Linked DNA regions of Homo sapiens: regions 2, 3, 4, 5, 6 and 7 are each linked to region 1. The links are contacts of gene promoters, found by promoter capture Hi-C in blood cells and fetal thymus (Javierre and others, 2016). All regions are on one chromosome and are shown on one strand. The core of a region is centred on a gene start or on the middle of the fragment in contact, and the rest is flanking DNA. Distances in the headings are between cores, read along the strand shown.

What was found. The method cuts DNA at HindIII sites, captures the fragments that hold promoters and counts their contacts. A CHiCAGO score of 5 or more calls a contact.
Region 2: a fragment that was not itself captured here is called in contact with the fragment with the promoter of FGF9 in region 1 in 1 of 17 cell types (endothelial precursors); the score reaches 6.1 in endothelial precursors.
Region 3: a fragment that was not itself captured here is called in contact with the fragment with the promoter of FGF9 in region 1 in 1 of 17 cell types (M2 macrophages); the score reaches 5.0 in M2 macrophages.
Region 4: a contact is called between a fragment that was not itself captured here and the fragment with the promoter of FGF9 in region 1, in 1 of 17 cell types (endothelial precursors). The highest score is 5.0, in endothelial precursors.
Region 5: a fragment that was not itself captured here is called in contact with the fragment with the promoter of FGF9 in region 1 in 3 of 17 cell types (M0 macrophages, M2 macrophages and endothelial precursors); the score reaches 7.5 in M0 macrophages.
Region 6: a contact is called between a fragment that was not itself captured here and the fragment with the promoter of FGF9 in region 1, in 1 of 17 cell types (M0 macrophages). The highest score is 5.1, in M0 macrophages.
Region 7: a fragment that was not itself captured here is called in contact with the fragment with the promoter of FGF9 in region 1 in 1 of 17 cell types (endothelial precursors); the score reaches 5.3 in endothelial precursors.

The regions. Positions count from the first base shown.
Region 1 is chr13:21,669,538-21,672,842 of GRCh38, reverse strand. FGF9 (fibroblast growth factor 9) reads right to left here and starts at 1,770. Exons shown (of 3, transcript NM_002010.3): 1 at 654-1,770. The coding sequence starts at 930. RefSeq lists silencers at 1,783-1,842, 1,863-1,912, 2,693-2,952. The HindIII fragment of the contact is 3,792 bases long and covers 309-3,305 here.
Region 2 is chr13:23,328,341-23,331,645 of GRCh38, reverse strand. SACS (sacsin molecular chaperone) reads left to right here. Exons shown (of 10, transcript NM_014363.6): 10 at 1-2,816. The coding sequence ends at 1,510. Among named protein-coding and RNA genes, the nearest start is that of SACS-AS1, 89 kb to the left of the region's middle. The HindIII fragment of the contact is 229 bases long and covers 1,355-1,583 here.
Region 3 is chr13:23,308,298-23,311,602 of GRCh38, reverse strand. The region is part of intron 6 of SGCG (sarcoglycan gamma); the gene reads right to left. LOC107984585 (a long non-coding RNA gene) reads left to right here. Exons shown (of 2, transcript XR_001749787.2): 2 at 1-718. Among named protein-coding and RNA genes, the nearest start is that of SACS-AS1, 110 kb to the left of the region's middle. The HindIII fragment of the contact is 6,032 bases long and covers 1-3,305 here.
Region 4 is chr13:23,179,784-23,183,088 of GRCh38, reverse strand. SGCG (sarcoglycan gamma) reads right to left here and starts at 2,110. Exons shown (of 8, transcript NM_000231.3): 1 at 2,014-2,110. The HindIII fragment of the contact is 1,152 bases long and covers 978-2,129 here.
Region 5 is chr13:23,146,978-23,150,282 of GRCh38, reverse strand. It overlaps LOC124903134 (a long non-coding RNA gene), which reads left to right. Exons shown (of 2, transcript XR_007063719.1): 2 at 2,067-2,557. Among named protein-coding and RNA genes, the nearest start is that of LINC00362, 22 kb to the left of the region's middle. RefSeq lists an enhancer at 2,495-2,664. The HindIII fragment of the contact is 3,996 bases long and covers 1-3,305 here.
Region 6 is chr13:23,092,161-23,095,465 of GRCh38, reverse strand. No RefSeq gene overlaps it. Among named protein-coding and RNA genes, the nearest start is that of LINC00362, 77 kb to the left of the region's middle. The HindIII fragment of the contact is 7,712 bases long and covers 1-3,305 here.
Region 7 is chr13:23,028,680-23,031,984 of GRCh38, reverse strand. No RefSeq gene overlaps it. Among named protein-coding and RNA genes, the nearest start is that of LINC00621, 110 kb to the right of the region's middle. The HindIII fragment of the contact is 4,691 bases long and covers 1-3,305 here.

The sequences.
Region 1 (3,305 bases), core at 521-3,020:
GCTGGAAGGACAAAAACCCCTGAGCGCCCTGCCTCTTCCCAAGTCATTTTCCCCCAAGCCTCTGCCCCTGCTTTTCACGGAGCCTAAAATATGACTTTAGTCCTCCCAACAGGACAATCCGTCAGCAACCTTCGCCTATGGGGCTTTCAGACCCTCACAGGGGAGAATAAACAATGCACTTAATATACAATTCAAGTAGTATACTTACTAGAGGAAAGGGGGAAAGGAAAAAAACCTTAATTTGGGCACAAGATACCCACTGCCTTCAAGAAACTGCATTAAGTTCTTAGTAGTTAATGATTAAAGCTTTAAACTCGTGCAATCAGTCCATTCAAAAGAAACTTCCTAAACCCGTGTATCTGATGCAAAAGAACTGGAAACTTGTATTATATTTATAAATTATGCCCCCCTTTAAATTAAAAGTAGGGGGCCTTTCAGTGTATACTTGCATCAGTGCCAGCAGCAGATCTGCAATTCCGGAGGCATTTTTTTTTCGGAGCTGGCAAGACAGAGAGAGAGAGAGACAGAGATACAGAGAAAGAGGGGAGGAGGGGAGAACCCTTCCCACGTCCCCCACCCGGCCACCACCTTCTTGGTAGTTATAATTTCAACATGTCATCTCATGGACACTAAAGGGTTAATGGTATACCTACCAAATCGGCTGTGGTCTTTCCTGGTTCCCTGGATAGTACCATTGGGGAAGATTTCTAAGTGAAATCCAGTCCTGCAGTATAGCTGCCTCCGCCTGAGAATCCCCTTTAAATGATCCAAGTCCGTGACTGCGGGTCCCCTGGGGAGCCCCCCTGCTTCGGACTGACCCAGGTGGTCACTTAACAAAACCGGGCTGTCCACCGGCAACACGGGCACATTCCCAAACGGTACCGCATCCTGCACACCGAAATAGTTCCCAACTTCACCTAAGGGAGCCATCAGAGGACTCGGCTTTTGGAGCACAAGAATAAACAATAATGATGGTGTCAACCCAGGAGATATTAGGCGAGGTATATCCAACTCCCCTCCCTTACTGCAGTTGCAGAGAGAGAGAGAAAAAAAAGGTTCTTTTCTTCAATCCATTAAATGCATAAATAAAAGTAATCTGCTGTTTCACTGGCACAGGTTCAAGGTCAAACCACTGATAGTCTAAGAAACCACCACTTTATACTCACACACTGACATATTGATAAACATATCTATGTATCTCTATAGATAGATCCCCAGCTCTTAGCAGGCAGGAAGGTCTTCATCCCATCCGACCGTAATAAGGAAAAAAAATCCGTAGTTTCTCCATTTGGTTTGAGATCAGAATGACCATAGCAACTTAAATGCCTAGGCGTTATTATAGGGATTTTTAAGATGCACGGGCTACGTCAGAATTTACGGATCCTGACTCCAGGAAGGCATGCGCTGTTTTTACTCTCTAACCGACTCTGCAGACATCAGCATGAATCCTTCAAGGGGAAAAAAAAATCTCACGTTGGTGGCGGCGACAAATCTCCCCTCCCGGTCCCCCCTCCAAAAAATGATAATAATAATAAAACAAAAAGAAGAAGAAACTTTAGGCGTCCAAAGCTAGTATCCAGGATTCTCCAGAGGCTCGGCAGATGTCCATTGGCTTAGAACGGGTGGCGAGCGGCGAGCGAGGAGAGCCGCGTCCGGGAGCTCGCGTGCCGCCCAGGCTGCCGCGAACAGGTGTTGCCGCGCCGGCTCGCGGAGCGTTGTAGCCGGGCGGAGCGCTCCTCCTGCGCAGCCCCCGCCGGCGCGCAGAGTGGCGCAGGCAGCGGCATTGGGCTGGGTTTAAGGTAGCGCCGCCGCAGCCCGGGCTCCCCGCGGTCCTAGCGCCCGGCTTACTGCCCGCGCCGCTCTGCGGCAGGCGAGGTGCGGCGCGCCAGAGCGCAGGACTTCCTGGGAGGCAGTCGAGGAGCCCTGGCTTTACAAAGAAAAGCAAATGAAAGATGCACTGCGAGAGGCGGGAGGAAGAAACCCTGAGTCTCCCGAGACTCAAAGTTCTCCTGCAGAATAGAAGCCGGTAACCTACAATCTAGCTGGCTGGCTACATTGATGGAGGGTCAGAGTGAAACTGGGAAACTAGTTTTCACTGGGGCTCTGTAACCTTGCGTTGTATTATAGAATATGACTGAGTTGAGAGAGTCGGAGGGAAGGGGAGTTGATTTAATGGACTCGGATGGCCATGGCAGTTTCTCTTCCATTCTTCGGCCACACACACAGAAGCGCAAACTATGTTTCAGGTAAGATCAACTCCTCTCCCCCGTCACACACACACACACACACACACACGCAGATGCGGCCACCGTTTCTGTTTTGTTTGGAGCGTTCTGCTGGGCATCTTTGGGTTGGGGCTATGTTTAGGTCCCGCCCCGCTGCTCGGGTCCCGGCGGCCGCAAAGCAGTCGGCAGGGGGGCGCCAGAGAACCTTCTCTGTCCCCGACTTCGACTCGGGCGCGCGTCTTCGGGAGTCTGGGTGGAGGGGAGCGCTCCAGTAGGCGTCTTCTCGCCCTCAAACCACGCTGCTTAGGACGAGCGGCGCCATCCCAAGCCGTGCATCGGCTCGGGGAAGCGAAAGGCGAGTTCTGGTGTCTCACTCCACCGTCCGAAGCCCGCCGCGGAGCTGGGAGGGCCGGGCACTGGATGCTTGCGGGGCGCCCCGGGGCTGCAGCCGCTCCTTCCTGCTCTGCCCTGCGGGGCCGCACGTGGAAGCCTGAGCTCCGTTGCGCGGGCTCGGGTTTCTGTTAGCCGCCGGCGGCCTTCGCGCCCAGCGGGAGTCAGGGACAAAGAAACCCGCCTCCGGGGGCCGCCAGGGGCCCTGCCGGGCCGGGCCCGCCAGAGAGACTGGAGGCGGCGCGCTCTGCGCCCGGGACAGCCTGCCTGCGCCCGGATCCCCAGTGGCGGCGGGCGCGGAGCGCGGCGCCCCCCAACACACACACACACACACACACACACACACACACACACACACTCGCCCACAGCCCTCCCGCGGGGCCCCCCTTCCCTCCCCCTGCTCCTCTTTGTTCACATTGTCTTAGAAACGGCCCGACTCTCGGGTCAAGATGGTGAAAGTTGCCGAGACTTGAGCGCAGCTCCACACTGCGGGGCGTGCAACTGAGAAGCAAAGTCGAAAGCAGAGACTGAACCCCTGCGGTGGGGAAGCGAATCAAAACCTGGTTATGGGGGAGAAGTCGGATCCGCCTTAGTAGTCAGCTAAAGGCTGGAGATGCATAACTGGGGCTGGCCCTACTCCGGACGGGAGGGCTTCGCCTGAAGACGAAAGGGAGCGATGAATTTGCAGAT
Region 2 (3,305 bases), core at 220-2,719, 1.7 Mb before region 1:
GCGATTTGGTAATGCAGTCATCTTGCTCTACATTCAACATTCAGACAGTAAAGACATTAATTTCCTGTTAGCATTGGCAATGACTCTTAAATCAGCAACTGACAATTTGATTTCTGACACTTCATATTTAATTGCTATGCTAGGATGCAATGATATTTACAGGATTGGTGAGAAACTTGACAGTTTAGGAGTGAAATATGACTCTTCGGAGCCATCAAAACTGGAACTTCCAATGCCTGGCACACCAATTCCTGCTGAAATTCATTACACTCTGCTTATGGACCCAATGAATGTTTTTTACCCGGGAGAATATGTTGGGTACCTTGTTGATGCTGAAGGTGGTGATATCTATGGATCATACCAGCCAACATACACATATGCAATTATTGTACAAGAAGTTGAAAGAGAAGATGCTGACAATTCTAGTTTTCTAGGAAAGATATATCAGATAGATATTGGTTATAGTGAATATAAAATAGTTAGCTCTCTTGATCTGTATAAGTTTTCAAGACCTGAGGAAAGCTCTCAAAGCAGGGACAGTGCTCCTTCTACACCAACCAGCCCCACTGAGTTCCTCACCCCTGGCCTGAGAAGCATTCCTCCTCTTTTCTCTGGTAGAGAGAGCCACAAGACTTCTTCCAAACATCAGTCCCCCAAAAAGCTTAAGGTTAATTCTTTACCAGAAATCTTAAAAGAAGTGACATCTGTGGTGGAGCAAGCATGGAAGCTTCCAGAATCGGAACGAAAAAAGATTATTAGGCGGTTGTATTTGAAATGGCATCCTGACAAAAATCCAGAGAACCATGACATTGCCAATGAAGTTTTTAAACATTTGCAGAATGAAATCAACAGATTAGAAAAACAGGCTTTTCTAGATCAAAATGCAGACAGGGCCTCCAGACGAACATTTTCAACCTCAGCATCCCGATTTCAGTCAGACAAATACTCATTTCAGAGATTCTATACTTCATGGAATCAAGAAGCAACGAGCCATAAATCTGAAAGACAGCAACAGAACAAAGAAAAATGCCCCCCTTCAGCCGGACAGACTTACTCTCAAAGGTTCTTTGTTCCTCCCACTTTCAAGTCGGTTGGCAATCCAGTGGAAGCACGCAGATGGCTAAGACAAGCCAGAGCAAACTTCTCAGCTGCCAGGAATGACCTTCATAAAAATGCCAATGAGTGGGTGTGCTTTAAATGTTACCTTTCTACCAAGTTAGCTTTGATTGCAGCTGACTATGCTGTGAGGGGAAAGTCTGATAAAGATGTAAAACCAACTGCACTTGCTCAGAAAATAGAGGAATATAGTCAGCAACTTGAAGGACTGACAAATGATGTTCACACATTGGAAGCTTATGGTGTAGACAGTTTAAAAACAAGATACCCTGATTTGCTTCCCTTTCCTCAGATCCCAAATGACAGGTTCACTTCTGAGGTTGCTATGAGGGTGATGGAATGTACTGCCTGTATCATAATAAAACTTGAAAATTTTATGCAACAAAAAGTGTGAAGATATTTAACGAAAAAAAAGGTAGATCTTGAATGTGTTGTAGCACGAATAAATTGCTGTACTTCATTAAGCTTCATTGCCAATTAGCTAGGAATTGTTAAGCACATTGCAGATTGTTCTTGGAGAATTCTGGAGTTGTTATGAACATGAATACCAACGGAAAACCTTAACTGAATCTAAAAGAAAACTATTTTGAAGATGGTGGTGAGCTGCAAAATAGCTGGATGGATTTGAATGATTGGGATGATACATCATTGAACTGCACTTTATATAACCAAAGCTTAGCAGTTTGTTAGATAAGAGTCTATGTATGTCTCTGGTTAGGATGAAGTTAATTTTATGTTTTTAACATGGTATTTTTGAAGGAGCTAATGAAACACTGGACATATAATTGGTTTAAACATAAGGGGAATTAAGTCTTTGTAGTCTGTCATTTTTTTAAGTGGATCCTCTTGGATGCGTTATTTTCTCATCAGCTGGCTCTGATCATGAATTTGTTGTAATTTTATGTTGTACTCAGTGCATTTAAGAAATGGTAGAGTATTTTAATCCTATTACTTGACTAAGAGTGTGAAGGTAGTACTTTTTAGAGTGCACTGAGTGCACTTTACATCTTTATTTAAATTTTTTTTTAACATCTTATGTTTACAGGCTTCCTGTTTGATGAAGATAGCAACGGAAAACTCAAAATGGTGGCAGTTCTTATTACCAGTTGTTAGTATTGTTTCTGGAAACTGCTTGCCAAGACAACATTTATTAACTGTTAGAACACTTGCTTTATGTTTGTGTGTACATATTTTCCACAAATGTTATAATTTATATAGTGTGGTTGAACAGGATGCAATCTTTTGTTGTCTAAAGGTGCTGCAGTTAAAAAAAAAACAACCTTTTCTTTCAATATGGCATGTAGTGGAGTTTTTTTAACTTTAAAAACATCAAAAATTGTTAAAATCATTGTGTTATCTAGTAGTTTATAATTATCGGCTTATATTTCCCCATGAATGATCAGAACTGACATTTAATTCATGTTTGTCTCGCCATGCTTCTTTACTTTAACATATTTCTTTTGCAGAATGTAAAAGGTAATGATAATTAGTTTATATAAGTGTACTGGCTGTAAATGATGCTAAATATACTTTATGCAATTAAGGGCTTACAGAACATGTTGAAACTTTTTTTACTTTTATTGGGAATAAGGAATGTTTGCACCTCCACATTTTATTGCTTCTGGATGTGAAATCATGTAATTATTTCTGCTGTTATATAAAGTGCCATACTTTTAATAAAGGAAAATGTACATATGAAATCATCGTAATGGGTGTTTCCTGAGAAATAGTTCATTGGAAATCAAACTTAACATCTTAATATTAAGTTTTAATGTGTGTGTATGTGTGTATTTATTGGAAATATTAGGAAAATATTTTCCTGTATATTTTCATGCTGGAATTATAGATTTTTAGGATTAATAGAATATGAAGTGCTTGTTATATACTAGGTTTAGGTGCTCATTGATTTAGTTGAGTTTATGTCACCTTTTTAGGGAATCAGATTAGCTGATATATGTGGTATATATGTGTTTGGAAACAGATACATTAAATATTTTTTTCCTCTAGGTAGAGCTGAATTGATATTTCCATTGCCTCAGGGACAGCTGCATGTCTGGGACTAATTCACACTTTATTACTGACAGATAGGAGTTCTTCATCTTTATAGTTGAGGCACAAGTCTTCAGAGTTAGGCAGATGAGGGCTAAGAGTGCTCTCTGTTCTGGAGCTACCTGAATTCTGTGCCTTCA
Region 3 (3,305 bases), core at 252-2,751, 1.6 Mb before region 1:
TACCCCAGGCCAACGTGCCGAGCACCAAGCCAGTTGTCCTGTAGGAGTAGTCAGACACCTTATAGGTGAAGGCTGAAGAAAAGTGACTTTATCAAGGGGAAGGAGGGAGCTCGCTACCACCCCAGTGAAAAGGTCTCTTGATGGGGTCCACAGACTACAAGTGAAAAACCTCTACCCTCTAGAGAATGAGGAAGACATACATATGAAGAACTATGGCTAATAATTTTCCAAAATTGAAAAAGAACATGAGTTTCTGAAACTGAAGAACTGAAGAAGTTCACTGATACTCAAGTATAAACTAACACATACCAGACACCGTGGTGAAACTGCAGATGGCCAACATTAACAATAAAATCTTAAAAGAATTCAGAATGAAAATCACATGATCTCTAAAGAATCAAAAGTGCACTAATGAGTAATATATTTTAAAATACTCGTGTAAAATTATTGTCAGCCTAGATAGAAATCTGGCTCAGCCTAACCAGCACTTGACTATAAAGGAAACTGGACATTTCAGACACAGGGAACAAATGTACAATCTATAGATCTTCACCAAAAAATGTACTTATGGAAATTAAATAAGAAGAAAAGAATGTTTCCAAGAAGAAGCAGTGGACATTACAAAATGTGCTGGTAAAGCTAAATAGATATGGCCTGAAAAAATAAAGCAGGGAGATGAATAAAAGCAATGCTGAAATAAAACCACAATGAAAGGGAAGTTTGGATGGAAGTGACTAAGTTTTTAAAAATATTATTTGGGAAGAAGGTGGTATTGATGTAGACTTGGTTGACAAGTATTAATTTGTGTCTGTGCATATAAACAAAAGACAATCATTGAAAGAATAAAAATAGAACTATTGGGGGAAATATGGGTGGAGAGGAGGAAAAGTTTATTAATCCAACAAAAAAAGAAAAAGGAGAAAAAATGAAAAGAAAAAGCATGGTAAATAAAACAAAATGATAGAAATGTGGCAAATAAACCAGTTACCATAATAAATATAAATGGGCTAAATTAACCCATTAAAAGAAAATCTCAAACCAAAAAATTTGAAACATAGAGAAACAACTGAAACATAATGCTGCAAACATATTGAAAATAAAACACTTGGAAAATGTAAATCAGTGCAAAAGAAAGTAGGACCAGGTATAGCAATTGTAATACCAGACAAAATAAGGGCAAAAGGGTAACATTACTTATGATTAAAAGGAAGAATTCAGGCCCGGCGCGGTGGCTCACGCCTGTAATCCCAGCACTTTGGGAGGCCGAGGCGGGCAGATCATGAGGTCAGGAGATCGAGACCACCCTGGCTAATAGGGTGAAACCCCGTCTCTACTAAAAATACAAAAAATTACCCGGGTGTGGTGGCGGGCGCCTGTAGTCCCAGCTACTTGGGAGGCTGAGGCAGGAGAATGGCGTGAACCCAGGAGGCGGAGCTTGCAGTGAGCCGAGATCGTGTCACTGCACTCCAGCCTGGGCAACAGAGCAAGACTCCGTCTAAAAAAAAAAAAAAAAAAAAAAAAAAAGAGAAAAACAAGGCAAAAATACTAAGTATATAGAAGATGTTAACAATGTAATTTGCAAGATTGACCTAGTAGCCGCTTACATACAAACCTTGCATTAAAGCAAAAGATAACATGCTTTTAGCATAAACATTTATGAATAATTATGAATAATTATATGCTCATAATGAGTAACAAGGAAAAATTTCTAGCAAGGAAACAACCAAAATGGACCTGAAGATGTACAAAACTTGAAAAGAGAAACTTCATTAAATACATTGAAGTGGAAGTGTAAATAATCCAACTTCCCCAAAATGTACTGGCTCTTTCATTTCATATGTGAGTTTACACCAAACCTTTGATTGCTCTTACACACACTGTTTGAAAGAAAAAGGAGAGGTGGGTACTTAGACCAAAATGGAACTTTCTTAATTTGATAATAGGTATTAATATTTACCAAAAACCTATAGCAGACATAATTTCATTTAAAAAATTTAGAAGCATTTCTCAAAGTCAGGAAGTAAACACAGATGTCCATCGTTACTCTTTCTAGCCAACATTTGTCCCAGCCAAAGTAACAATACAGGGATCTGAGAAGTAAGAAGTATAATAATAAAAAGGATGACTCTTTTTTCGGCACTATCATCATCTTAATGGAAAAATCAGTTGAGTTCTACAATCAAAATATTAAAACTAAGCTGGGTATGGTGGTGTGCATCTGTAGTTCCAGCTACTTGGGAGGCTGAGGCAGAAGGATCATTTGAGGCAGAAGGATCATTTGAGCCCAGGAGTTCAAGGCCAGCCTGGACAATATAACAAGACCCCATCTTCCTCTTTCTCTCTCTCTCTCTCTCGGCATATGTATGTATTTTTATATACATATATATGTAAACTAATAACAATGATCAGTAAAGTTGCTGGCTTAAAAACTATCATGAAAAAATCAATAATAATCACTTTGAAAATTTAACAGAAAAAAGAACCCATTCTCAATAGAAACAAAAACTATAAACACCCTGGTAATGAATTCTAATAATTATGGGCCAAACCTAAATGGAGAATATCATAAAATATTAAAGGACATATAAAAGGCTGTGTGAATAGAGAGATATACCATATTTATGGACAAGAGACTTCACGATTATAAAGGCATGAATTCAGTGTAATTCCAATAAAAAAAAACCAGGAGAGTTTTTCAAAAAACCTGAAAAATTGATTTTAAAATTTACATGAAAAACAGTCCAGGCATGGTAGTTCACACCTGCAATCCCAGCACTCTGGGAGGCCAACGTGAGTGAATCACTTGAGGTCAGGAGTTTGAAACCAGCCTGGCCAACATGATGAAACCGCGTCTCTACAAAAATACAAAAATTAGCTGGACATGGTGGCATGCACCTGCAATTCCAGCTACTCAGGGCGCTAAGGTGGGAGAATCACTTAAACCCAGGAGGTGGAGGCTGCAGTGAGCTGAGATCATGCCATTGCACTCCAGCCTGGATGACAGAGTGAGACTCTGTCTCAAAAAAAAAAATTACATGAAAAATAAATGTCTAAAAACAGCCAATACAACTCTGAAGAAGACATGGTGGGGACACTTGCCCTAGCAGGTACCAGATGCATTGTACAGCTATTAGGGAGATACTGGTTTAAGAAGAAAAAAGCCAGAACAACAGACGAGAATAGGGCACCCATTAAAAATAGCTTTATATATGACAAAAATAGCATTACGGATAAAGAAGGAATGGACTGACTTTTGAGACAACTGGGTATTCCCACTCAGAAAGCAAAAGAAAATTATTTGCCTA
Region 4 (3,305 bases), core at 304-2,803, 1.5 Mb before region 1:
GGCTCCATAGCCTAAACTTTTAATCATAGCCTCTTCATTGATGTTAGACTTTCCAGAGATGTTTCTCAAGTAAAATTAATTGAGCATTTTAAAAACAGAGTTAAAGAAGTCACGAAGGTGAAGCTAGGTTTTAAGGTACTCTTCACTGCCGCCTCCACTGCCCTTAATCCATTCTCCATGTCAACTGCAGTGATCCTTCCAAAGCACCCATGTGACTGGGCTGCTCTCCTTTTCTAGAGGTTCAAAGGTCTCACTGGTGCTTAGGATGAAGCACAAACGCCTTTGGGCACAGCAAGCCCTCCTGTCCCCATTCCTCAGTGGTCCTACCCACCAGTCATACTGAAGTCGAGCAGGCAGTGAGATTTTCACAGGTTCTGAGAAAAGTCTTGAGACCTTTACCATTCACAAATTACTAAATACTCCTGTACCAGTGTTCCCATAAAACTATCTACAGCATAACATATAAAATTAAAAATGAAGCTGGAATCCAAAATGGCCAAAGTAGCAAGTGATGGATCCTGCAATCCTCATGAGAACGTCGTAGAACTATCTGGCCCTGCAGTAGGTCTGGAGAAGAATAAAGCCAGACAGGTGCTATAGAGGCTGAGAGAAGGGGAGGGAGGGAGGGAGAGACAGGAAGGTGTCATGAAGGTCAAGGTGGGTTCTGAAGGAGCAGGAGAGTAGCAGAGTCATCCTCAGGACGCTGTAGTTTCTCCCCTCCCACTGGGAAACCACAGCCCTGGTGCCTCAAGCTGAGAAGACACAAGCGCTGTGATGAGCCACAGATTAGGGAGTGGAGGGAGATCCTCAGGCCCTATAAGTTATGCAAAACTGAACACATTGGGAACCCACTATAATTTACAACTATCATTTAATTTTTAATGCAATTTAATAACAACTTAGTTTAATGACTAGCAAGTACATTTTTTAAAGGACAATATGGAACAATTTCATTTTCCGCATTTTAACTGCAAGCTTAGCTGATATCTTTTGGACACCTGAATTTGTTAGTCTTTGGAATGCTATATCTAACTACATTGAAATGCTACTTTTCATTTGTCTTTGAAAGACAATCTGAAATGAATCCTAGAACCTATAAAACGAACCCCAACTTGTAGCATTACTTTTTAAATTCCACAAAGGTGCCTTTTTGTACCTACAAAATGTTTGCAAGAAAATAAGCAAAAAACAAACGGTGTATTCCGTAGTTCGTTTTTGTACTGGTCTGCTGGCAAATCTTTCAGTCAGCTGAGTTATATTTTTCCGTATTATTTTTTTCTAATCCTTCCTTTAAAAAAATTGTGTTTGCTAGTTGTCATGTATTAATTTAGAAAACGCAAAGAAAGAACTCATAACTTCAGTAAGCTGAAGCATTAGCACATGTGTACTTTTACCCCACTTATGTTTATTTTTTCATACATATTTTGAGCAGTATTTTATATTTTCCAGATTTAGGGAAAGAAACATTCTTCCCTTTTCACTCCAAAAATAGTGAAGGAGTCAGGTTGCTATTTTGCTCTTGTTTTGTTTATTTCCAACTTATAAAACCACTGGACTTTTGTTGTCATTCATTTTAGTTTATTTCTTAGTGTCTATAACAAAACTATCAAGAAAATCTAAAGCAAATGTAATTCTACCACTAAAGTTTAAGAGCAGAATTAGAAGTAGGTGATCTTAAAGATAATACTTTGTTTAAATTAACTACAGGATCCAATTCAATGCCCAATAATACAGAAATGCTACCTTTGGCATTCTACAAATTAAAAATGTTAGAAATATAGGATTATGCTAAAAATATGTAGCATATTTGTAGTCAGAATAACTTAGTTGAAATGAGAATTTCATTGATACTTGATATGTCATTATGTTGTGATACACCAATTTATTCAACATTATTTTAAATTTATTATTATGCCACCAAAGAAGAAAGAATATTAAGAAACCTCTTAAGCGTTTGGTTTTTAGGTAGTACTTTGTACTGATATAAAATCTAAGTTAAAACTGAGCACTTACCTTAGATATTAAGAAAAGCACACTGGCGAATGAACTACAGCTGGCCCGAGCTCTACCACAGACAGAATGTTTCAAACTTTTCTATGACTTACAGAATGAGAGCAAAGGATGAAGCTTCAGCAACTGTCCCTGGAGAAAGGGCTCTCACGAGTTTCGCCCTGTCTCATGTTTCATCCCCTCACATTAGCAACAGACGTGTCTAATTTTACTCAGTGACATAAACAGTTCATACCACACTTAAAATTTTTTGGGCACCAATTCCAGGACACAGCTCTTCGCATGCCAAAAACAAACCAAAACAAACAAACAAACAAGAAACCAAACTCTTCTTCTTACAAAACCAACTTTCCAACATTTAAACCCTAAAGCATGATAGTTTAATGTAATTATAACTTTCTTAAAAAAACTTTACCTCAAACAAACAGCAGAAAACTTCTAAGACTGGTTTCCATTAGAAACTAATGTTGATAAAATTTTACGAAAAATCTCTTCAAATTAACATGCAAGTTAGAACTTGTGACTATTACCTATATACTAGTCTCATCCAAATGAACGGCATATTACCATGTAACAGTGACTCTTTAAAAATCACTTTCCCTAAGCCTCTTTAAGTGAAAAACTTTTAACATCTGAGGAGAAAATCTTAAACAAAGATCACCATAATAGAAGGTAAACAAACTCTGCATGTTAAAATTATGACAGTTCTTTTCTAGTAAACTAACATTTCTATTGTGTTTAACAAATTATGTGAATGTAACAAATGTGACCTTAAATTGTCTTTATGTTTATTTAAGAGTAATTAGGTCATTCCATTTTATAAGGTGTAAAGACAACAGAATAAATATCGAACTTCTGAATAATTTTAATATTTTATTTTGCATTATTTTTATGTGACCTGGTTTGCAGCAGGATTAAAACTTACTAAATTATATACTTCATATTTGCATTTTAGTACTAAACCTTGAATATAAGAAGCAGTGCCTTAGTATACATGCACACAGAGATGGGAACAATCAGATACTGGGGCCTGCTTGAGGAAGGAGGGAGGGAGAAAGGTGGGGTTCGGAAAACTGTCTATCGGGTACTGGGCTTACTACCTGGGCGATGAAATTATTTGTACATCAAATCCTGGTGATATGCAATTTATCTGTGTAACAAACCTGCACATGTACCCCTCGAACCTGAAATAAAAAATGAAGAAAAAAAGGAGCAATGCAATAACAATGCATATGCTTCATTCTCATTTTATTTTCTTCTCAGGAGACTTTTCTCTTCATTCTGCTTATTTATAC
Region 5 (3,305 bases), core at 427-2,926, 1.5 Mb before region 1:
ATTTGCGAGGATGTGAAGAAATTGGAACACTCATATATTGCTGGAGGGAATGTAAAATGTTGCAACCATTTTGGAAAACAATTTGGGAGTGCTTCAAAACATTAAACATAGCCTTGTCAGACGACCCAGAAATTTTCTTCTATTTATCTATTCAAGAAAAATAAAAACAAATCCATAAAAAAACTTGCATACAAATGTGCACACTAGAAGTATTCATAACAGCAAAAATGGGGAAATAATCCAAATGTACATCAACTGATGAAGGAATAAATAAAACATGATATATCCATACAATGGAATATTATTCAGCAATAAAAGGAATGAATTACTGACACATAATACAATATGGATGAACTTTGAAAACATTATACTAGGTGAAAGGAGTCAACGACAAAAGATCAGATAGTATAATTAATAGACATAATATGAAAAATAGACAATTAGGGGCTAATAAAAATGTTCTAAGTTGAGAGTTTGGTGCCTGCTGCATAACTGTGAATATAGTAAAGCCTTTTTCATTCTGTACCTTAAATGGGTGAATTTTGTGTGGTATGTGAATTATATTTCAGTAAAGCTGTGAAAAATGCATATACATAAAAATATTAGCTTTTGTTTTTCTCTCATGCTCCAGTGAGTTGCAGAAGTCAGAAAAGAGAGGATCAGGAAGCCATCAATTCTGCTTTTACCTGTACATTTTTTTCTTATTCTTTCTTATTTAGTTAAAACGAAGTAAGAGTCAGCTCTCAGGTCATTTCCGTAAAATCCATCCCCTTTCTTATTTGTTTATTCCTTTGATGATGTTCAAGGTTCCTTTTTTTTTCCCCTTCAACACTATATTTTATAAGACTGTCTGCAAGCCAAGGGCTCTTCTTGTACCTACATTTGTATGTAAATTGGTACAGGTGATGTGTTAAACTATAACTTTAAATTTGTGACTTTAAATTTCAGTTGAACATCATGCTGTGATGAAAGAACATTGAACTTTATGCTAGAGGTCCTGGTTAATCCAAATTCTATTCTTAGATCTAACAATCTTTTCTGTGGTAACAGCTACCTCTGTGGGCCTAAGGCTTTTCATCAGTGACTGAAATGCTTGTTAAAAAAAAAATCCCTAACACTAATTTTTTTAAATTGATGTTTAAAAATTTCCTTTCTCTATTTTTTTCTTCTCAGCTTTTTTAGTATTCAGGAATGTGTTACAAGAAAGGCTAAAGGTTTGAATGGTCCTGTGTTTCTTAACTGTACAACATGTGGGCTCACTGCACCTGAAATTACTATAGTTCTAAATGTCAATGATTCTGAATATTAATAACTTTCAATTATGTAAAGACCACATAGTATAAGGTTAGGGGGCCCTCTGGGTGTAGAAACTGTGGGTTCTGATCTCTTTCTATTTGGTCATTGTATGATCTTACGACCTATGGCAAGCTGTATAAATTCTTTTTTTTTTTGAGACAGTTTTTGTTCTTGTTGCCCACGCTGGAGTGCAATGGCTCAGCTCACCACAACCTCCGCCTCCCTTGTTCAAGCGACTCTTCTGCCTCAGCCTCCTGAGTAGCTGGGATTACAGGCATGCGCCACCACGCCCGGCTAATTTTGTATTTTCAGTATAGACGGGGTTTCTCCGTGTTTGATCAGGCTGGTCTCCAATTCCCGACCTCAGGTGATCCACCTGCCTCAGCCTCCCAAAGTGCTGGGATTACAGGCATGAGTCACCGCGCCCAGACTGTAAATTCTTTATGCTTCTTTTTCCCCGTCTAAAACATGAGGGTAAAAATTAAGATGTAAATGATAGGAATGTTTTAAGAAATAAATGAATTAAGGTATGCAAAATATAGAACACAATACCTAGAATTTAGTAAGTTTTTTTTTTTAGAAATGCCAACATCTTTTCTTTTTTTCAAATTACACTTGCTAGTATGGGCCACTTTTCATTGGCTCCTCCAAAGGAAAGTTAATATTAAAGCAAGTTATGTAGGTAATTAATTTCGAAAAAATTCCTTTAATGTTTTATTAGAAAAATTAATGTTTGCCCTTGATTTTTTTTTTCTCATTTAAACATGTAGTGCCCATATGGAAGTGCCGGGAAGGGAAGAGCATGGCCCCTTTAAATGATACTGAAGGGAGAAAGGAAGTGCTGGGTAGAGGAAGGAGTGACCCCTAGCTAGGACTCCACCCCCACGGACCTAGGTGAGGACAGATGAGACCACCCTGGCCTGCCACGCCCCCATCCTGTGCCTAAAAATCCCGAGACCCTGCAGGCAGACACATAGGCGGCTGAACAGCAGGAGGAGCACATCAGCAGAGGAATACACGGGATGTGGAGAGACAGGTATTGGCATGCCAGCAGGCCACCAACCACCGATGGCAGAAGCAGAATGACGCCTGCAGGTCACACTGATGGACAGAAGCAGAACCATGCGGAGTTTGGCTGGGGCAGCCGAGGAGAGCCCAGGATGCAGAGTGGCCCAACTCCAGCGGAAAACTATCTTCCTTCTGGCTCCCTTATCTGCTGAGAGCTACTTCTACTCAATAAAACGTTACACTCATTCTCCAAGCCCACGTGTGATCCGATTCTGGTACACCAAGGCAAGAACCTGGGATACAGAAATATCTCTGTCCTTGTGATAAGGCAGGGGTCTACTTGAGCTGACCAACACAAGCTGCCTACAGATGGCTAAACTAAAAGAGCACCCTGTAGCATGCCCACTGGGGCTTCAGGAGTTGTAAACATTCACCCCTAGACACTGACTTAGGGTGGGAGCTCCACAGCCTGCCCATCTGTATGCTCCCCTAGCGGTTTGGGCAGCGGGGCACTGAAGAAGCGAGCCACACCCCTATCATCCGCCCTGCGAGGAGGACAAGGGAACTTTTCTGTTTCCGTGTCAAAAAGTTCCTCAAGACAAAACCTGATGAAACTATTCAATAGAGACTTTATGAGCCTTTAGACTCAAGGAGAACTGTTTCTGGGCCTGGGTAACTAAGTAACACAAAATCGGGGAGTAGCTCCCCACTACCTGGGGTCAGAAGTTGTGGGAGAATCAGAGGCAGGTCTGTGACATGGTTAACAGCAGGCTGAGACGGATGGGTAGACGCATCACAGTGACTGCAACAGACGGTTTTCTTTGGAAGCATGAGTGTGCAGCCCTGAAGGCTGTCCAAGAAATAGCTGCTGATAGTTAATGCATGGCAAAGGGGGATTTAAATCTCCTTACAAGTTGTAGCCAGTTTATTTTTGAGCTATATATATTTGGATCTGAGTATTCATGACTCATCTCTCTGACTGAAACCTATGCGTATATATT
Region 6 (3,305 bases), core at 310-2,809, 1.4 Mb before region 1:
GTAACAGAATAACAAAGACTGGATAATTTTGAAGAAAAGAAATTTATTTCTTATAGTTCTGGGGGCTGGAAAATCCAAGATCAATGTGCTGGCAGGCTTGGTGTCTGGTAAGGGCCTGGTTTCTGCTCCCAAGATGGTACCTTGAATGCTGCATCCTCTGATGAAAGGAACAGCATTCCTCCTATGGCAGGAGAGAAGAAGAGCAGAGTGATATGACCTACTTCTGAAAGCCCTTTCTTAAAGGCATTAAACTCACCCTCATGGGTGGGTTTACAGCCCAATCACCTCTTAGAGGTCCCACCTCTTAATACTGTTACAATGGCAATTAAATTTCAGCATGAGTTTTTGAGAAGACAAACATTAAAAACTAAGTTTGCTCCCTCCAAACATCATCCTAAGTTAGCATCTTCAGGAGACAGAAAAACTGTCCTCTAATTCTTCTGGGAAGAAGTACAGAAGGTCAACTTACAGCAGAAACATGTTCTATGTGACCATCTCAAGGTAAACCTATATTTGCTTTATGTTTTGTTCCTACTTCTCATTGGCTGGAGGGAAAGTCACCTTGTTTGTAGACAGCCTATGTTATCACATTGACACAGTGAACAAATATGGAGTAACTAGGCATACAGTATGTCCCTTCTAAGAATTTCTATGGAGAGAATCACAAAAGACTCTAAGTGTCAGGGCCAAATATTCCAGAGACCCTAATACAGAAGCACAAATAGGAGTGGCTGGCAGGGTCGGATGCACGGAAAAGCAAAAGCTGATAACGGGGCAATCAGAACAGAAGGCAATCCTAGTGCATTTATGGCTTGGAGATCTTGACCCAAATCGTAAAGTTTCCTTGCTTTTATTTTATTTATTTATTTATTTATTTTGAGACGGAGTCTCGCTCTGTCGCCCAGGCTGGAGTGCAGTGGCGCTATCTCGGCTCACTGCAAACTCCGCCTCCTGGGTTCGCGCCATTCTCCTGCCTCAGCCTCCCGAGTAGCTGGGACTACAGGGGCCAGCCACTATGCCTGGCTAATTTCTTGTATTTTTTAGTAGAGACAGGATTTCACCGTGTTAGCCAGCATGGTCTCATCTCCTGACCTCATGATCCGCCCGCCTCGACCTCCCAAAGTGCTGGGATTAAAGGCGTGAGCCACAGCGCCCGGCCGTTTCCTTGCTTTTAAATAGGTGAAATAAGGGTGTTCATATCTCCTGGAGAAAAGTATAGTTCCTTTTCCCAAAGGAGATGCGGGGTGTATACCCTCCTCTGTCTCCAGATATAAAAACATGGCCTTTAGGAGAAGAAGATGTCAGAGTTTAACATGATTGTAGTTTTCTGATCAGACTGACTGCATCCAACATGTTGATTGTCTTAGAGACAGAAGAAAGAATCTCTTTCAGCGCATAGGTTCTTGGAACAGTGGGTTCTGGATTGAGGATTTTAAAAAGGCAGATAAAATAGGGAATTCATGCTTAGAAAGGGACTTTAAATATATCCTAACCTGCAGTAGATAATACATTATTTTCAAAAAATGTCATGACCCAATTGGGAAAGAGACATGTAATAGAAATTACAAATTATGGAATAATACTCGAAGACAATCTTCATGGGTGAAAGACTGGATATGGTTGATACTTACTGTATCAGCATCCTCAGAAGACAAAGGATAGGGAGAGAATTGGCCGGGTGCGGTGGCTCACGCCTGTAATCCCAGCACTTTGGGAGGCCGAGGCGGGCGGATCATGAGGTCAGGAGATCGAGACCATCCTGGCTAGCATGGTGAAACCCGTCTCTACTAAAAATTACAAAAAATTAGCCAGGCATAGTGGCGGGAGCCTGTAGTCCCAGCTATTCAGGAGGCTGAGGCAGGAGAATGGCGTGAACCCGGGAGGCGGAGCTTGCAGTGAGCCGAGATCGCACCACTGCACCCCAGCCTGGGCGACAGAGAGAGACTCCGTCTCAAAAAAAAAAAAAAAAAAAAAAAAAAAAAAAGGATAGGGAGAGAATTAAGCTCTGAGGGCTCAATGAATCCGTTTTGTGTCAAGAGTAAATAAAAAGATCTTGCTGATATGCAAAAAAGTTAAGTACAGACTAGTTTAAAGGTAAGAGTGGGAGGAGTTACTGATGCCCAGATTATCCTAACAGGGGGATTGCTGTAGAGTTTAGGCGTGAGGTTATTTAAGATTTGGGTCTGGGAAGAAAAAGTGTATGATGAAAAACTCATAAGGGCACTCCTTTCTCTTGAGCCTTTGCTCTCCAGAGAACTGAAGGCTGCTACCACTTCCTCATAATAAAATCCTCACTAACAACCCTTGGTCCTGACTGAAATTTCCCTATGTTCTTCCTCAAGGTCCTGAACTTCCTTTATTTTGTTCCAAGAGTTTTGTATTTATGCTTTATTTTTGTTGTCAAAATTCATGCAGTAATTAACTGGGATACAACTTTAATTAATGATTGGGGTTGCTGACTTATTCCAAAGAGCCACTGCTTCAGAGGCTGCCTCAGTAACATCAGGAATGCTGGGATGCCCGTGGAAGACATTTCCACCTTTCCATACCAGCAGCAACAAAATTTCCTCCCTTATTTTGTTAACAGTTCATTTGAGTCCAGACCATCCTATTGTTTCCACAAATGGGGCTCGGGCTTGTCTGAGAGTGGCCCCAGCACTGAGATCATGAGCTCATCGTTCAAACTCCCTCTTGGGTAGAATCTGACCTTGGAATATTCTCTGTACGCATGATTTGGTTTGTATCCTATTTGTCCTTTTGAGATTATGAACATTGTAACAGTCTCTAATTTTCACTTCCTAAGGTTTTCGGCCACTCAAGGAATAGTCAGTTTCTCTGGTGGTGATATTCATGTTCTATACGCCAAGATCTCTTGATGGGCATGCGCATTTAGCGTTTGAGGTTCTGATAGGTGAGTGTAGCCTCACCTTCAGGGGTAACTTATTTTTCTATTTCCTACAATTTTCTTTTCTTTTCTTTCTTTTTTTTTTTTTTTTTACCATATGTTCTCTATTACAAAAATCAGTTTCTTCTGAAATTACAACCCTTACAGCCATACTGCACGTATACATCCAAAGCTGGTACCACTTTGAAAGTGTGGGACTTCTTTAGACACTTGAGTCTCATTTCTCATGTTGTATGAGACTTCCTGCAGGACTATCTTTCACAGTACAGTAACACTGACGTGGAAGATTTCATTGTTATGTTCATGGCACTAGACATGATAAAAAGGTGTATTAGTCCGTTGTCATGCTGCCGTGAAGAAATACCCAAGACTGGGTAATTTATAAAGGAAAGAGGCTTAA
Region 7 (3,305 bases), core at 283-2,782, 1.4 Mb before region 1:
CACTGTTCTCGAGGCTAGAAGTCCAAATTCAAAGTGTCAGCTGCTCCCTCTGAAGGCTTTGGGGAAGGGTCCCTCCTTATCCCTTCCCAGCCTCCGGTGGCCCCATGCCTTATAGCTGCATCACTACACCCCCAGCCTCTGTCTTCACGTTTGCTGCTTCCTTGTGTCTGTGTCCTGTGTTTTCTCTTCTTCTTAAAAGGATACCAGTCATTAGATTTAGGACCCAAATTAATCCGGTATGACCTCATCTTAACTGATTACATCTGCATTACCTTTGGAGATCCTATCTCCAAATAAGGTCACATTCTGAGCTTCAGTGTTGAGAGGAATTTTGGGGGAACACTATTGAACCCTCTATACTTATCCAATTCCTAATTCTATTATGTTTTTATCTATGCTGTAACATGGTAATCTCCTTTGCCTTGGAAGGTGCATGACTTTTGGGTTCCTAGAGACCTGGATTCAAACCCTCCCCTTGTACATGAACGAAGGGCGGTGTAACTACTTTCTTCATTTGTGAATTGGGGAGAAGCAAGAGGTAAGGCACAGAAATTATATAAAAATGAAATTATACTTGATATAAGATTATGCATGGCACATGGAAGGAACTTAAATATTATTTTCCTATTAAAATTTAGAACATTCTGTATTAAAATATTTATTAGAATGATACATAAGTTTGTAGACAGCCTCATCTTTGATAAACCTAGTAAAATAGCATTGGTCCCGTCTAAATAATGACTGTTTTGGAAATCTCACTTTTAAGAAGTTCTTCCTTAAATAAAATGCCTCCTTAAGTTATTTGAACCATTATTAACTGTTCCGCCTCATAGGCTTTTATTGAGGAAATAAAGCACTGTAGTAATTTTTCTTTATTAAATAATTTAAATTTGTAACTGTATAATATGTAATATTTCAAATGAAAATAACATTATATATCAGACAAATGTCACATCAACCAGATTTGACAAATCTGGTTTAACATTTATCATATTTTTACAAATGTTTTAATTATTTTGCTTCAATTTAAGAAAATAAAGATTTACATATGCAGTTTAACTCCACATTCCCATCAGATCCCTTTCTTTTCCTTTTTTCTTTTTTTTTTTTCTTTGAGATGGAGTCTCACTCTGTCACCCAGGCTGGAGTGCAGTGGCGCGATCTCAGCTCACTGCAACCTCTGTCTCCCAAGTTCAAGGGATTCTCTACCTCAGTCTCCCAAGTAGCTGATCTTAACAGGCACACACCACCACAGCCAGCTAATTTTTGTATTTTTAGTAGAGACGGGGTTTCGCCACGTTGGCCAGGCTGGTCTCAAACTCCTGACCTCAAGTGATCCACCTGCCTTGGCCTCCCAAAGTGCTGGGATTACAGGCATGAACCACCCCAACCAGCCCCATTGGATCCCTTTCTTTCCATTCCTTAGTAGGCAGTTACTCACAGAGTTGTTTGTCACCAGCTCACACAACTCTAGACATGAAGTAAACTACTATGTATAAAAAAAAATGTCGTCTATGTATGTACTCAAAAGAGAAATTGCTTTTTAAATGTATGTGACTAGTCTTAGTACACTTTCTTCACATTTTTAAAAATGCATGTTCTGGCTGGGTGTGGTGGTTCACGCCTGTTATCCCGGCACTTTGGGAGGCCAAGGCAGGTGGATTATGAGGTCAAGAGATCAATACCATCCTGGCCAACATGGTGAAACCCCATCTCTACTAAAAATACAAAAATTAGCTGGGCGTGGTGGCACGTGCCTGTAATCTCAGCTACTTGGGAGGGCTGAGGTAGAGAATCTCTTGAACCCAGGAGGCATAGGTTGCAGTGAGCCGAGATTGCGCCCCTGCACTCCAGCCTGGGTGACACAGAGAGACTCCATCTCAAAAAAAAAAAAAAAAAGAAAAAAAAGAAAAAAAAAAAAAGCATGTTCTCTGGACTTTTCGTTTCAGCAACTTCACTGGTCTCCATTGTATGAATGCTATTGTGCCCTTGCCCAGTTCCCAACTGAGGGACAATTATTACAGTCTCCCTTTTCTTCCTGCCTCACAGCAAGTTCTGTAATGAACACCCCAGCATGTTCTCCATATGAATGTGTGGTCATCTCTAGACCTGCAATTGTTGGATTGTTGGATAGTCTCATCTTTAATTTCATGGCTATTACTAAATTGTTTTCCAAAGTAGAGGTATGAATTTACATTCTCACCAGAATAATACAATTGCTGTTCCCACACGTTCTTATCTACATTTGGTACATCAAACTTGTTTTTTTCAATCAGATGACTATAAAATAATATCTTTTGGATTTGATTATAAGAGAGTTTGAACAATTTTTAAAATCTGTTTGTTGGCAGTATAGTTTTCAAGTTCTGTGGATGCCCACTGTATCCCTTGAAAGTATATTGGCTGATACAACATTGGCTAGTTTGTCTTTTCCTTGCCCCCATTTGTATGAGGTTAATAAAACATATATGTATTCTGTATAATATTCCTGTATTGGTCTTGCCTTGCAGATATCTTTCTCCAATCTGTGGCTCATCTTTTCTGGTCTTCACCACAGTTAATAAGCCATCTCCTGGGGCAAGTGTCTTTTTATGTATTTGGATTTCTCCTTTCAGTACTGATTTTCTCTTGGTTTCTCCTCGTGCACTAGAATCCTGTCTTTGTCAGAAGCTGCTAAGTGCCTGTCTTAGTCCATTCGTGTTGCCATAAAGTAATAACTGAGGTTGGGTAATTTATAAAGAAAAGAGGGTTATTTGGCTCACAGTTCTGCAGGCTGCACAAGAAGCATGGCGCCAGCATCTGCTTCCAGGGAGGGCTGCAGCCTGCTTCCACTCATGGCATGGGGTGAAGGGGAGCCAGCCTGTAGAGATCACTTGGTTAGAGGAAGCCAGACAGAGCATGGAGGTGCCAGGCTCTTTTTAATAACCAGCTGTTGTTGGTACTAATAGAGCAAGAACTCACTCACCCTCCCCTGTAATAATCTATTCATTGGGACTCACCCCATGATCCAAACGCCTGCCCTCCCCACCCCCTGCATTAGGTCCCACCTCCAACAGGGATTAAATTTCAACATGAGATTTGGAGGGGACAAATATTCAAACTATTGCAGTGCCTTTTAGTCCTTCTAGGGCCGGAGCTTTGGCATGGTTGACTAAATGAGAATGAAAGCCTGGTGATCTGGAACCTCGTTAAATTGGACCGAGTGTTGCATTCTCTGTGCTCATGTTTTGACTGAGATATTTCTCTGGTTCTAATCTGGTTTTCAAATTCTGACTTCTGTCTCGCTGCTCGCTGACCCTTAATTT